Linked DNA regions of Homo sapiens: regions 2 and 3 are each linked to region 1. Evidence: promoter capture Hi-C in human tissues and cell types (Jung and others, 2019). All regions are on one chromosome and are shown on one strand. The core of a region is centred on a gene start or on the middle of the fragment in contact, and the rest is flanking DNA. Distances in the headings are between cores, read along the strand shown.

Region 1 (5,083 bases), core at 721-3,220:
TCTATAAACTTCCCTCTTAGCATGACTTTTCCTATATCCCAGAGGTTTTGATATGTTGTGTTGCCATTTTTGTTCATTTCAAACAAAATTTTTATTTTCTGTTTTTATTTCTTCTTTGACTCAGAGATCATTCAGGAGCACATTGTTTAATTTCCATGTATTTATACAGTTTTCAAAGTTCCTCTTGGTATTGATTTTTAGTTTTATTCAGCAGTCTGAGAAGATGCTTGAAATGATTTTGACTTTAAAATTTGTCGAGACTAGTTTTGTGGCCTAACATATGGTCTACCTTGGAGAATGTTTCACGTACTGATGAGAAGAATGTATATTCTGCAGTTGTTGGGTTCTGTAAACGTCTGTTAGCTCCATTTGGTCCAAAGTCCAACTTAAGTCCAATTTTTTTGTTGATTGTCTGTCTTGATGATATATCTACTACTGTGTGTGAGGTGCTGAAGTCCCATACTATTATTGTATTGCTATCTATATCTTTCTTTAGGTCTAGAAATATTTGCTTTATTAATTTGGCCTCTCCAATGTTGGATGCATATATATTTAGTATTACTATATTATCTTGCTGAATTGATTCTGTTATCAGTATCTCATGATCTTCTTTGTCTTTTTGTACTGTTTTTTATTTAAAGTCTATTTTATCTGATACAACTATCACAACTCTTGCTGAAGCACAGTGGCGAGATCATAGGTCACTGAAGCTTCAAACTCCTGGGCTCAAGATCTTCCCACCTCAGCCTCCCGAGTAGCTGGGACTACAGGTTCAGGACACCACGCACTGCTAATTTTTAAATTTTTAGTACAGACGAGGTGTGGCTCCGTTTTCCAGGATGATGAACTCCTGGGTTCAAGCAGTCCTCCCGCTTCAGCCTCCAAAAGGGTTGGGATTATAGGCGTGAGCCCCCGCACCCTGCCTGCAAGTCTTTTAATTCACTTCAATTATCTTAGAATTTTCCTTCCCCACTTTATACATACGTACAGTGGAACTGAGGGTGTTTGTCTCAGGTAACCGATCAATGAAGTGAATAACCTGTAGGGGGCAGCAGAGCCTAAGGCCAGTGACACCCTGCTGAGGCCAGTCTGGAGCCGGCAAAGGGAGGGAAAGGGAGCTCCCCTGGGTGTTTCCCGGGCAGCCTGCCCTCTACTGCAGGTGGCCTCCAGCTGCTCAGAACAGCTGCGGAAGGAATGTGGATCCTGAGAAGCTACAGAGCCCTGGAAAGCAGGAGACTCACGTGCAGGTGCACTTTGTGTAGGGGGGTTGGGGGGAGGTTCTGTCCTTACTGGGGCTGTACCTAGAGCCTAGGGACGTTTTGCGGGGGCAGTGTTTGGTTTTTACGTGCAAAGGGTCCCGGCGACAGACTGTAATTTGTACATACAAAGATAATCTGTGAAGATCAGGCTCAGTAAGATTTGTCTGACATGTCACCTGGAGAAAGGGTTTGTGAAGGTAATAGTTTACTTAGGTTAGAAGCTTAAACTGACCCCAGGTGAGAACTTCTGCTGGTGAAAATGAAGTCTAGGGGGAGGAAGCGGTTCCATATTCAGGGGTGGGACGGGGGGAGTGTGAGGAAGTCTCATCCCCAATTCCCGCCCTGTAGAGGACACCTGCCTCTCCCTCCTGGTGCAGTCTTGCCTGGCCTGGCCTGGCCTGGATTTCCTTCCTGCTATGAGGCAAAGGAATGACTCCATTGAACACCGAGTCTGGAATTCCCAGCACACATTTCTGAAAGATCGAGGAAGCTAACAGTGCCCCTTCTAACAATAAGTAGCAAGTTTGGCTGAAATGCAGATAGCCAACGACCAGGGCGCAGGGAGTGAGCTTAGCCTTAGAAAGGCTGTAGCTAGGATTAATCAGCCGGGCTCTGCAGGGCTCCGTTACCCAGGGCTTACCCTGTCACTCAGGGCTGAGGGGCGGAGCCTGGAACCCCATCCAATCAGGGGCCCTGGGACGGGGCCCTGCCAACTGTCAATCCGGGGAAGCAGAAGGCCGCACTCAGAGTCTCTGCACTCCTTTGTTGCTGGGGTCCGTTGCGTTCTGCATCCAGTCCTTGCTGCTCCGAGAGGCCCCAGGTGCCTCCGCCACGGCTCCTGTGACGCTGTCACCTGCGCTGTGACCTGCTCCGGAGTCATAAAGAGGACGCCGGGACACCAAGAAGCAGGGAAATGGTAAAGTGCCCGGCCTAGCGTCCAGATACGTGGAAGAGGGGCTGGGTGGAACCAACAGGATCCTGCTGTGGCGGGACCCAGGCCTCCGCTCGGGCGACCCCGGCGATTGGGACCCGCGTCCCCCATGGCGTGGCTTGGCCCTCGGTCCGCTCGGCCGCCAGGTGGGGCTGGGCCCGCAGCTGGGACCCCGGGCGTCCTGTCCCGTCCCTACGCGGCGACTGCGGCCCCGGCCCCGGAGTCCTCTCTGGGCAGCTCCGCGCCCGCAGCCCGGCGTCTTCCCAGATTGTGCGGGGGCCACGGGAGGGTCATGGGGGGTCGGATGTGTCCCGCCTTTCTTCTGCTAAAAATTAAACTGAGGCTCTGTTAACAGTTAAAGAGTTTGTTGGAGCAACAGCGATTCCGAGTGAGAAACACCCGGTCATGGCTTGTGATTGAAGAAAAGGCTTTTATAAGTTGCATGAGGAGGCAAACAGGATTAAATACTTGATTAGTTACAGTGATGCTGTCGCCGTATGTGGACTTGTCAACCTGAAATAAAAGAATCAGATTCCAGTTTTTTAAAGTTTACTCAAGCAAGAAGCTGGGAATGGCCCATTTGGGAAAACACAGGATCCACGGAAATGGGCTCAGTGTTTCAAATTTAAAAGTTTAAGTTCTTGCTTATATAGGCAAGAAATTTAACAGGATTACAACGTTTTTTATACAAGGCTAGTTTGTGAGGCACAACAATTTAATCAGAGTTTGGCCCGCCCCCCTCCCCCCGCCCCCATAGAGCTTTTTTTTTTTTTTCTTTACATTTGGGTTTCATTTCCTTTCCAATTTAAAAGAGTATATTTAACATTCCAGCGTAAGGCAAGGTGATGCCAGCGTGGACAACATGGCGAGACCCCGTCTGTACAAAATATTTTAAAAAATTAGTCGGGTATGGCCGGGCGCGGTGGCTCACGTCTACAATCCCAGCACTTTGGGAGGCCGAGGCGGGCGGATGACGAGGTCAGGAATTCGAGACCATCCTGGCCAACATGGTGAAACCCCGACTCTACCAAAAATACAAAAATTAGCTGGGCGTGGTGGCACGTGCCTGTAATCCGGCTACTCGGGAGGCTGAGGCAAGACAATCGCTTGAACGCAGGAGGCGGAGGTTGCGTGAGCCGAGATGGTGCCACTGCACTCCAGCCTGGCGACAGAGCGAGACTCTGTTAAAAAAAAAAAAAATTAGTCAGGTATGATGGCCGCTTCTGTAGTTAGTCTGGAGGCTGAGGCAGGAGAATTGCTTGAGCCCAGGAGGTGAAGGCTGCATCAACGACAGTATTGAATTTACAGCTAATAGGCAAGGTGAGGGAGAGGATGGAAGTTGGTTTAGTGTCAAGAATTAGGGAAGAGATTGTCAAACGTAGGGAAAAGGGACTTGATTGGATATCAGGTTTGGGGGAATTTTCTCTAAACTCCCTTAGAAGGGTTTTTGCTACCACAGGGCTCTGCAGGAAAAGGCCAAAGTCTACTCAAGAAGAGGGGGGCTCTGAGGAGCCTGACTAGTTTGATCAAAGAGGGAGTTTTTGGGACCCCTCTCCCAGCCTAGTTCTTCCCAGGTATGACAGTAAATCCCTAAATTTCTGGTTTTCTCCTCACATTCAAAAACACCAACTTCCCCTCGCCAATTGACATCCTTATCAATTATGTGTTTCCCATGCTACATTTGAAACAGCTGCCATATTTTATCATTTTTCCACAGACAAATGAATAGCACTATTTAAAAATGTTATCAACACCTCTGAAAATAAGGAAAACTTTTTTTTTTTTTTTTTTTTTGAGACAGTCTCACTGTGTCTGTTGCCCAGGCTGGAGTGCAATGGTGCTATCTTGGCTCACTGCAACCTCGGCCTCCTGGGTTCAAGCGATTCCCCTGCCTCAGCCTCCCAAGTAGCTGGGATTACAGGCATGTGCCGACATGCCCGGCAGATTTTTGTATTTTTAGTAGAGACACGGGAAAGAAAACATTTTTTAAAAATTTTAGTCCAGGCACAGTGACTCACTCCTGTAATCCCAGCACTTTCAGAGGCCCAGGTGGGAGGATTGCTTGAGCCTAGGAGTTCAAGACCAGAGTGGGCAGGGCAACATAGCAAGATCTCATCTCTACTGAAAACAACCAAACAAAATAGCTGGGCATGGTGTCATATTCCTGTAGTCTCAGCTACTATACTCGGGAGACTAAGGCGGGAGGATCGCTTGAGCCCCGAAGATCCAAGGCTGCAGTGAGCCTTGAGGGCACCACTGCACTCCAGCCTGGGAGACAGGGTGAAAATTTTCCTCAAAAAAACAAAAACTTTAGGGCTTGGCATGCTGGCTTACACCTGTAATCCCAGCACTTTGGCAGGCCGAGGTGGGAGGATCACTTGAGTCCAGAAGTTTAAGACCAGCTCAGCAACATAGAGAGACCCCGTCTCTATTAAATAAATAAATAAAATTTTAAAAAGAAAAAAATTATATTTTGTTTATGAATATTTTTTATGAGAGGAAACTATTCAGTAACTACCCAAAATGACATTGGGTAAAACTCCATGGCTGATTCTTGACATTGATCATCTTTTCATGTGTTTGTTGGCCATTTGTGTATGTCTGGGAGAAATGTCATTAAAATCCATTGCTTGGCTGGATGTGGTGGCTCATGCCTATAATCTCAGCACTTTGGGAGGCTGAGGCGGGTGGATCATGAGGTCAGGAGTTCAAGACCAGCCTGGCCAACATAGTGAAACCCTGTCTTTACTAAAAATACAAAAATTAGCTGGGCATGGTGGTGCATGCCTATAGTCCCAGCTACTCAGGAGGCTGAGGCAGGAGAATTGCTTGAACCTGGGAGGCGGAGGTTGCAGTGAACCAAGATCGCGCCATTGCCCATATTTTAGTCAAT
Region 2 (5,083 bases), core at 1,536-4,035, 180 kb after region 1:
AAGACATGTGGGAAAGGCTTTTATTCTCCCACGTCATTTCAAAGACATGAAAAAACTCACACTGCAGAGAAACCCTATGAATGCAAGCAATGTGGTAAAGCCTTCAGTAGTTCCAGTTCCTTTTGGTACCATGAAAGGACTCACACTGGAGAGAAACCCTATGAGTGTAAGCAATGTGGGAAAGCCTTCAGATCTGCCTCAATCCTTCAAATGCATGCTGGGACTCACCCTGAAGAGAAGCCCTACGAGTGTAAGCAATGTGGGAAAGCCTTCAGATCTGCCCCACACCTTCGAATCCATGGTAGAACTCACACTGGAGAGAAACCCTATGAGTGTAAGGAATGTGGGAAAGCCTTCAGATCTGCCAAGAACCTTCGAATTCATGAAAGGACACAAACACACGTAAGAATGCACTCTGTAGAAAGACCTTATAAATGTAAGATATGTGGGAAAGGCTTTTATTCTGCCAAGTCATTTCAAATACCTGAAAAATCTTACACTGGAGAGAAACCCTATGAGTGTAAGCAATGTGGGAAAGCCTTTATTTCTTTCACTTCTTTTCGATAACATGAAAGGACTCACACTGGAGAGAAACCCTATGAGTGTAAGCAATGTGGAAAAACCTTCAGATCTACCTCACACCTTCGAAAACATGGTAGGACTCACACTGGATAGAAACCAAAGCAGGTGAATCACCTGAGGTCAGGAGTTCAAGACTGGCCTGATCAATATGATGAAACCCCTGTCTCTACTAAAACTACAAAAATTGGCCAGGCGTGGTGGCCTGCTTCTGTAATCCTAGCTAGTTGGGAGGCTGGCACAGGAGAATCGCTTGAATCTGGGGGGCAGAGGTTGCAGTGAGCCAAGATTGTGCCATTGCACTCTAGCCTGGGCAACAGGAGCAAAACTCCGTCTCAAAAAAAAAAAAAAAAAAGACTTGGCCTTGTGGTGAGGGGATGTCAGCTCTAGACTCCTGGAGCTGTTTTTGCCTTATTCTCTAAAGACTAAAATATTTCATAAAATGTATGGGTGCTGTTTACCAGAAAGTACGTTGGGTAAAACATAGAAATTCATTTATACCTTAGAAAGCTATTTTTTTCAGGTTGGTTTAGTGAGTCACAGGAAGCTAATAAATTACAATAATAATGTAAATTGTCTAAATACAGCCTTTTCTTTCTCTGATAATGTGCTGTTGATACTAACTTGTCAACAGCCTGTTTATTTCAGCCATGTAAAGTTAATGGCAACATGGAAAAGTCACTTTTATATGTTATGCAATGGCATGGAAAAATTCATTTTCATTAAGGTTCCAATGAAGCTGCTCTTCAGAAACGCTTATTTAAAACTCCCTAAGGTCAAAGTCCAGGCATCACGGGATGCAGCATCAATCACTGACCAAACCCTGTCTGTGTGTGGAGATGACATACCCAGTCCCAGATAATGTATCCACATCAGTGAAGGGTGGAATCATTGATTGTCAGATCACACAGCATGATTCACAGCAGGGAAGACAGGGCAGTGACAGAGGTGGGGGCACCTGAGCAGGTACGGTGGCTCACACCTGTAATCTTAGCACTTTGGGAGGCCAAGGAGAGTGGATCACTTGAGGTCAGGAGTTCAAGACCAGCCTGGCCAACATGGTGAAACCTTAAGAAATAGATAAATTAGCTGGGCATCGTGGTGTAATCCCTGTAATCCCAGATACTCAGGAGGCTGAGGCAGGAGAATCGCTTGAGCCTGGGAGGTGGTTGTTACACTGAACTGAGATCACACCATTGCACTCTCCAACCTAGTCGACAGAGCAAGACTCTGTCTCAAAATGAAAAAAACAAGAGTTGGGTGCACCTGAATCCAACCCCTGCCTTATCCTCCCTTGAAGGCCAAATACACCCTGACACTTTTAACCAAACAGTAGAAACAACACCATCCACTTGACCCCAAATGTGACTTTCCACAGGATGCAAGCACAATGTTGGAATGGCCAATGACAGTGACAATGAAAGTGCAGGGTGAGGGTGATGAACAGGACACACTGGAGAGCCTGACATTGGCCTAGACTATGGAGGTGTCTTGATGTTTCACAAAAAGCCCAAGGACCAACCCAAAGAGACACTGGAGCACAGGCCCAAAGGGTGTTCATATGCCAGGAAGGCTACTAATTTTAGAAGGCAGTGATGGTGCCTGTTTGAGTCCGGATGCTTTATAACTTCTGCTTTTCTGCATCTGCTTAGACAAAGAAATCTGCAGTTTTTGAGTTTCAGTGTTTAGAAGTAAGTTATTTTAGCAATCTACACACTTGTGGTTTATTCTGAGCTAACTTCAGACACACAGCTACAGATAGGGAATATCACGAGTATTTCCAAGGCTAAAAGTCTTCATGAAGTCAGTGGGACCCTCTCATGGGAGGGTTTTAAGACCCACAATCAAAAAGGTGGGGAAACATTAGAGTGGAAAGAGGGCAGCAGGTCAGGGGCCTTCCCCAGAGGTCTAACACACCCAACATTATTACCCTGGATGAAAACCAATACATATCATAACACCACACACACTCTTCAATGTTTCACAGACAAAATGAAATGTATTCAAAGCTAAGCTTCCAGAATTCCACTTTACACAATAAGGTTTTAATATCACTCTGTGTTGATGTTAGGCAATTACTAAATAGCATTTTCTGGTTATCTATGGAAAATACCTTGATTTCTGGGATATGAAAATGCTCATTTTTAGATATGCTTGTTTTTGAACTTTTTTTAATAAAATAAGGTGAGAAAACAGGAAAAAAATTTTCAGATCAAGGAACTTAGGCGAATTAATAGGAGAAAAGTCATACAAATTTATTTAACATGTATATATGGGAGCCTTCAGAATGAGGACCCACCCAACAATAAGACAAAAAAGCTTACATACCATTCTGAGGCCAGGAAAAATGCAGACTTGGCATGGCCAAAAAAATTCCAGGTTTGGTGGGGAAGTCATTTTTAATGGCAAGACAGATTATGCTAAAGGAAAGGAAGAAGCTTGGCTAGCAAAGGAGACCTTGTTATGTAGATGAAGGCTCCCTCAGAGAGAATAGGTGGGAAATGCTGCTTTTCAGACTTTTATTTAGAATTTTAAGTAATAGAGTCAGGATTATGCTGTGTTGCCCAGGCTGTTCTCTAATTCTTTGTCTCAAGCAGTCCTCACAGCTCAGTCTCCCAAAGTGCTAGGATTCCAGGCATGAGTCACCATGTCCAGACAGGGTTTGTCCCCTTGTAAAGAATTATTCATTGCTGGGCACAGTGATTCACAGTGACGTCTGCCTGGCATCTGCCTGTAAAGGAAGCATGGCACCAGCATCTGCTCAGCTTCTGGTGAAGGCCTCAGGAAGCTTTCAATCATAGCGGAAGGTGAACGGGGAGCAGGCAGTCACATGGCGAAAGCAGGAGTGAGACAGAGAGAGTGGTGTAGGAAGGTGCAGCTCACTAGAACTCACTGATTATCACAAAGACAGCAACAAGCCATGAGAGAAACAAGCCATAGGTCCCCCTGACCCAAACAACTCCCATCAGGACTCACCTCCAACACTGGGGATTGCAGTTCCTCATGACATTGGGTGGGAACATACATTCAAACTATCACGTGACAATATTACTTCCCTCAGTTTATTAAAGAACAAGTGTTTCTAGCTCTTCAGTGCTGTTCAGTGATTTGGAATATGGACAGGGAAAACTTTGATAAATCAGGAATGGCTGCAGTGAGCCATGAACATAGAATCTAATAATTTTTAAACTAATTTTATAATAGCTGGGCATGGTGGCTCATGCCTGTGGTTCTAGCACTTTGAGAGGCCAAGGTGGGTGGATGACTTGAACCCAGGAGTCTGAGAACAGCCTGGGCAACATGGTGAAACCCTATCTCTACAAACTTTTTAGCCAGGATGGTGACATGCACCTGTAATCCCAGCTACTTGAGAGGCTGCAGTAGGAGAATCACCTGAACCCAAGAGGTTGAGGCTGCAGTGAGCTGTGATCATGCCATTGCACTCCAGCCTGGGTGATAGAGTGAGACCCTCATCTCCAAAAAAAACCCCATAATTTTATAATCAGGACTATTTTTTATGGATCTGTATTTTAAGAAAAAAATGGAAAGACCAGATCATTGAAGATCAGTACAAAAATCTCAGGAATAATCTAAGGTAAGTTTCCCTCACAAGATAAAGCATTCTCTCTCTAGAAAATCTTATACTGCCTGAAAATGTTTTGGTTTTTTTGGAGACAAGAGTTTCACTCTTGTTGCCCAGACTGGAGTGCAATGGCTCAATCGCGGCTCATCGCAACCTCCGCCTCCCAGGTTCAAGTGATTCTCCTGCCTCAGCCTCCCAAGTAGCTGGGATTACAGGCGCCCACCACCACGTCTGGCTAATTTTGAATTTTTAGTAGAGATGGGGTTACTCCATGTTGGTCGGGCTGGTCTCGAACTCCTGTCCTCAGGTGATCCGCCTGGCTTGGCCTCCCAAAGTGCTGCAATTACAGGCGTGAGCCATTGTGCCCGGCTGAAAATGTTTAAAATATGCAAATAAAAGAAATAAGACCAGCATCACATTTATTTACTCTTAGAAAATTTTCTCTAAAAACATAATATTTAAATGTGACATAGGCTAGGCACAGTGGCTCACACCTCTACTCCCAGCCCTTTGGGAGACCAAAGCCAGATGATTGCTTGAGGCTAGGAGTGAGACCAGCCAAGGCAACATGGTGATACATCACCTCATTAACAAAAAATGTTAGCTGCGCATGGTGGCACTTGCCTGTAGTTCCTGCTATTTGGGAGGCTGAGGCAGGAGGATGGCTTGAGCCCAGGAATTCCAAGCTACCATGAACCATGCTCAATTAGACCCCTGCCTTATCACAAGGACAGAGGGCTTTCTGTATCCTAAGGTTCTTGCCTTGGTATACTGGAAGAATTGTATCACACGTGGGCTTGGAGAATGAGTGCAAGTTTTTTCTTTTTTTTTCTGAGAAAGGGTCTCACTCTTGTCGCCTAGGCTGGAGTGCAGTGGCCTGATCTCGGCTCACTGCAACCTCCACCTCCCAGGTTCAGGTGA
Region 3 (5,083 bases), core at 893-3,392, 150 kb after region 1:
GAATTCTCTCACCTGCCTTCTGGTTTTAGGTTGCAATAGGCTGCAGATGACCTGCTTTCTTTCTGAGCTTGATTGACCAAGCACAAGTCCTGTACTGGCCTGTAGTTCTTGGTCCCTGGCTTGGGAACAGGCAGGAGGGTAGTGTTCCATGGAGACTGGCAAAGGACTATAATTCCAAAGGCTCTCAAGTGCTTGAGGTGGACCTGGATTCCTTCAAGAGCTTCTCTAGGGAACCGGGTACTGTTTTTGCCTGACCGGCTGGGCCCCAGGCTTAACTTCTGTAGGTACGGGGGTTTGGTTGACTGCCAGCCCTGGAGGGTTGTCTTCTGCCCACACCTTTGACCATCACTTAGCCAGAGCTGGTCTTATCTCTTGACCTGGCTCGGTTAAGAAAAGTCTTCATTCCTCCTCCTGGGGGACAGTAAGGGCCATGATGACTCCCTTTCCGGGTAACTTTAGCTGTAAAAGAGCTGTGCTCTGTAAGAGAGATGGTGGCTCTCAGCTTGCTAAGCAAGTCCCTTCCCAGCAAGGGCAAGGAGAAGTCGGGCATGTACAAGAACTGGTGGATTACTTCATGTACCCCTATAGTACAAGTGCAGGGCAAGCAGAAAGCTTGTTTTGCCGAGACTCGTGTGGCTTCGATTATATCAATAGTCTTTTTGGATAAGGGGGTGACCGGGGTGGTTACTACTGAATATTCAGCACCAGTATCGACAAGAAACTCTATGTCCTTGTCCCTGACTGTCATCCTGACCATGGGCTCGTTAGGGGCACCTGAGCCTGGTCCCCCTTAGTCCAGTAGCCCTTCTGCCAGATTAAACAAGGCCCTTTCATCCTTGCCTGAGACCTCTGGCTTGGAGCCATTTTGTTTCTTCTTTAACTGGGGGCACTTGTCTTTCCAGTCTTAGATCGTAAATGAGCTGCCAAGGGAGGGGTTTCTCCCGCAGCTTCACATTCTCTCTTGTCTGTTCTGGGTGGTCTAGGGGTGTATCTGTCCAGAGGAGGCACAGGTGCTGTGGGCTCAGGAGTGGGGAGTCTCTCTTCTAGGTAAGGACGGGGGGCATTGCTGTGCCATTTCCTGCCATGGGTCCTCTGACATTGGGTCAGATAGAACTTTAGGAGCTGACTTCCCTTGGCGGGTGGGGAGAGATCCCTCATTGGCTATCTGTCCCTTTGCCACTAACACTGCTGCTGCCTGTCCTCTCAACCACTGTGGGGGGTCTAAAACCAGCTGTAACTAAGTGTCTGTGTACAGGAACTTGTCTGGATACCCTGGCTTACAGGTAATCTTGTGCCATACCTTTGAAATAAGGGACCTATCCAGGCTTCCTTCTGATGGCCAACCCACCTCTAATGCTGGCCAGTCTGTCTCACACAAAGTTCTAAGTTTTCCTGGTGTTATAGTAACTCCATAGTCTCCCTTAAATCCCTTTTTGAAATTTTTTATAACATAGTTCCTAGTGGGGTGGGCTTACTTTGTGTCTGACCCATTTTTCTTTCGAGACAAGACAACACTCACACTACAAGAGGGAAAGGGTAAAGGTCACTCACGCGTGGTGGTACATGCCTATAATCCCAGCTACTCGGGAGGCTGAGGCAGGAGAATCGCTTGAACCCCGGTGGTGAGCCAATATCACGCCATTGTACTCCAGCCTGGGCAACAAGAGTGAAACTCTGTCTCAAAAAATAAATAAATAAATAAATTGCTTTATGGAAGAAAGTAAGTATAGATGGAGAGAAAGGGATCTGATAACCGAAGCAGGGAATAAATGTTTGGAGTCCACAGCATCCTGAGAACTTCTTGGGAATAGAGTCTAGGCCTCCAGTGCTGTCACTCTCACCCATCTTCCTCTACACATGTGAGATGTTTCAGGACCCAGTGGCCTTTGAGGATGTGGCTGTGAACTTCACCCAGGAAGAGTGGACATTGCTGGATATTTCCCAGAAGAATCTCTTCAGGGAAGTGATGCTGGAAACTTTCAGGAACCTGACCTCTATAGGTAAGGATGACAATATTCCTTCCGTCAGTGCATTAGCAAACCAGTGTTTCTAGCTCATGAATGCTGTTGAGTGATTTTGAACATAGACAGGAAATACCTTGATGAATAAATGAGGCATGGCTGCAGTAAATCATGGGCACAGAATCTAATAATTTTTTCACAATTTTATACTGCTTCAGGACTATTTTTCTGTGTCTGTATTTTAGGAAAAAAATGGAGTGACCAGAACATTGAATATGAGTACCAAAACCCCAGAAGAAGCTTCAGGTAATTTGCATTTCCAAGAGAAAGCAGTGTCTCTCTGCACAATCTTAGAATATGAGAATATGTTGAAGAGAAGTAAAACAAAGAACTAAATCCAGCATCAAATTCATTTCTTCTTAGAATATTTTCTCAAAAAACATATATTTAAACGTGACTGAGGCTGAGGGCTCACTCCTGTAATCCCAGTCCTTTGAGAAGTGGAGATAGGAGGATAGCTTGAGGCCATCAGTTCCAGAACAGCCTGTGCAACATAACGAGACCACATATCAACAACAGCAAAAAATTAGCTGGGCATTGTGGTGTGTATGCATCGGTAGTCCCAGCTACTCAGGAGGCGAAGGCAGGAGGATCACTCGAGACTTCAGGAGTTAAAGGCTGCAGTAAGCTATGATGATATCACTGTACTCCAGCATGGGCAACAGGACAAGAACTGGACTCAAAAGAAAAATGACATACAGTATTTAGTAATTGTAAAATAGTTTACATGGGAATACTATTAAGAAGCCCCTTATGAATATTTTTTTAAACAATAGGTATGGCTGGGTCATCTTGTAGAACATGTCCAGTCACCTTCAAACGATTCAGACAGGGCAGAAAGCCTACACTTTGATGGACAGTGTTAAAAATGCAAGTGCAATACTTGTTGATTAATATAGAAGTACTTGTAAACAAACCCTTCATGATGTGTTTCTCATGTTTTACAGGAGTCTCATAGAAGAGAAAGTCAATGAAATTAAAGAAGACAGTCATTGTGGAGAAACTTTTACCCAGGTTCCAGATGACAGACTGAACTTCCAGGAGAAGAAAGCTTCTCCTGAAGTAAAATCATGTGACAGCTTTGTGTGTGCAGAAGTTGGCATAGGTAACTCATCTTTTAATATGAGCATCAGAGGTGACACTGGACACAAGGCATATGAGTATCAGGAATATGGACCAAAGCCATATAAGTGTCAACAACCTAAAAATAAGAAAGCCTTCAGGTATCGCCCATCCATTAGAACACAAGAAAGGGATCACACTGGAGAGAAACCCTATGCTTGTAAAGTCTGTGGAAAAACCTTTATTTTCCATTCAAGCATTCGAAGACACATGGTAATGCACAGTGGGGATGGAACTTATAAATGTAAATTTTGTGGGAAAGCCTTCCATTCTTTCAGTTTATATCTTATCCATGAAAGAACTCACACTGGAGAGAAACCATATGAATGTAAACAATGTGGTAAATCCTTTACTTATTCTGCTACCCTTCAAATACATGAAAGAACTCACACTGGGGAGAAGCCCTATGAATGTAGCAAATGTGATAAAGCATTTCATAGTTCTAGTTCCTATCATAGACATGAAAGAAGTCACATGGGAGAGAAGCCTTATCAATGCAAAGAATGTGGAAAAGCATTTGCATATACCAGTTCTCTTCGTAGACATGAAAGGACCCACTCTGGGAAAAAACCGTATGAATGTAAGCAATATGGGGAAGGCTTATCCTATCTTATAAGTTTTCAAACACACATAAGAATGAACTCTGGAGAAAGACCTTATAAATGTAAGATATGTGGGAAAGGCTTTTATTCTGCCAAGTCATTTCAAACACATGAAAAAACTCACACTGGAGAGAAACGCTATAAATGCAAGCAATGTGGTAAAGCCTTCAATCTTTCCAGTTCCTTTCGATATCATGAAAGGATTCACACTGGAGAGAAACCCTATGAGTGTAAGCAGTGTGGGAAAGCCTTCAGATCTGCCTCACAGCTTCGAGTGCACGGTGGGACTCACACTGGAGAGAAACCCTATGAATGTAAGGAATGTGGGAAAGCCTTCAGATCTACCTCACACCTTCGAGTGCATGGTAGGACTCATACTGGAGAGAAACCCTATGAATGTAAGGAATGTGGGAAAGCCTTCAGATATGTGAAGCACCTTCAAATTCATGAAAGGACAGAAAAACACATAAGAATGCCCTCTGGAGAAAGACCTTATAAATGTAGTATATGTGAGAAAGGCTTTTATTCTGCCAAGTCATTTCAAACACATGAAAAAACTCACACTGGAGAGAAACCCTATGAATGCAACCAATGTGGTAAAGCCTTCAGATGTTGCAATTCCCTTCGATATCATGAAAGGACTCACACTGGAGAGAAACCCTATGAGTGTAAGCAATGTGGGAAAGCCTTCAGATCTGCCTCACACCTTCGAATGCATGAAAGGACTCACACTGGAGAGAAACCCTATGAGTGTAAGCAATGTGGGAAAGCCTTCAGTTGTGCCTCAAACCTTCGAAAGCATGGTAGGACTCACACTGGAGAGAAACCCTATGAGTGTAAGCAATGTGGGAAAGCCTTCAGATCTGCCTCAAACCTTCAGATGCATGAAAGGACTCACACTGGAGAGAAACCCTATGAATGTAAGGAATGCGAAAAAGCATTCTGTAAATTCTCTTCTTTTCAAATACATGAAAGGAAGCACAGAGGAGAGAAGCCCTATGAATGTAAGCATTGTGGGAATGGATTCACATCTGCCAAGATTCTTCAAATACATGCAAGAACACACATTGGAGAGAAACACTATGAATGTAAGGAATGCGGAAAAGCATTCAATTATTTTTCTTCCTTGCATATACACGCAAGGACTCATATGGGAGAGAAGCCATATGAATGTAAGGATTGTGGGAAAGCATTCAGCTAGCCTGGTTCCTTTTATGGACATGAATAGACTCACACTGGAAGGAAGCACTATGAATGCAAGCAATGTGGCAAAACTTTCACATTTTCCAGTTCTTTTCGATATCATGAAAGGACTCACACTGGGGAGAAACCCTATCA

Evidence for each region. Contacts are between HindIII fragments. The study calls those that stand out against the background at their distance.
Region 2: a contact is called between a fragment that was not itself captured here and the fragment with the promoter of ZNF491 in region 1, in 4 of the 25 tissues and cell types used here (bladder, lymphoblastoid cells, mesenchymal stem cells and 1 more).
Region 3: a fragment that was not itself captured here is called in contact with the fragment with the promoter of ZNF491 in region 1 in 8 of the 25 tissues and cell types used here (adrenal gland, aorta, bladder and 5 more).

What each region holds. Positions count from the first base shown.
Region 1 is chr19:11,796,553-11,801,635 of GRCh38, forward strand. It overlaps ZNF491 (zinc finger protein 491), which reads left to right and starts at 1,971. Exons shown (of 3, transcript NM_152356.4): 1 at 1,971-2,175. RefSeq lists a silencer at 963-1,132 and enhancers at 1,226-1,737, 1,963-2,062, 2,073-2,232. The HindIII fragment of the contact is 4,685 bases long and covers 1-3,627 here.
Region 2 is chr19:11,979,466-11,984,548 of GRCh38, forward strand. ZNF763 (zinc finger protein 763) reads left to right here. Exons shown (of 4, transcript NM_001367172.2): 4 at 1-1,152. It also overlaps a transcript of ZNF69 not described here. Among named protein-coding and RNA genes, the nearest start is that of ZNF433-AS1, 5.6 kb to the right of the region's middle. The HindIII fragment of the contact is 4,224 bases long and covers 674-4,897 here.
Region 3 is chr19:11,945,308-11,950,390 of GRCh38, forward strand. It overlaps ZNF700 (zinc finger protein 700), which reads left to right. Exons shown (of 4, transcript NM_144566.3): 2 at 1,874-2,000; 3 at 2,207-2,267; 4 at 2,969-5,083. The coding sequence ends at 4,946. It also overlaps a transcript of ZNF69 not described here. Among named protein-coding and RNA genes, the nearest start is that of ZNF763, 17 kb to the right of the region's middle. RefSeq lists a silencer at 4,382-4,611. The HindIII fragment of the contact is 4,250 bases long and covers 18-4,267 here.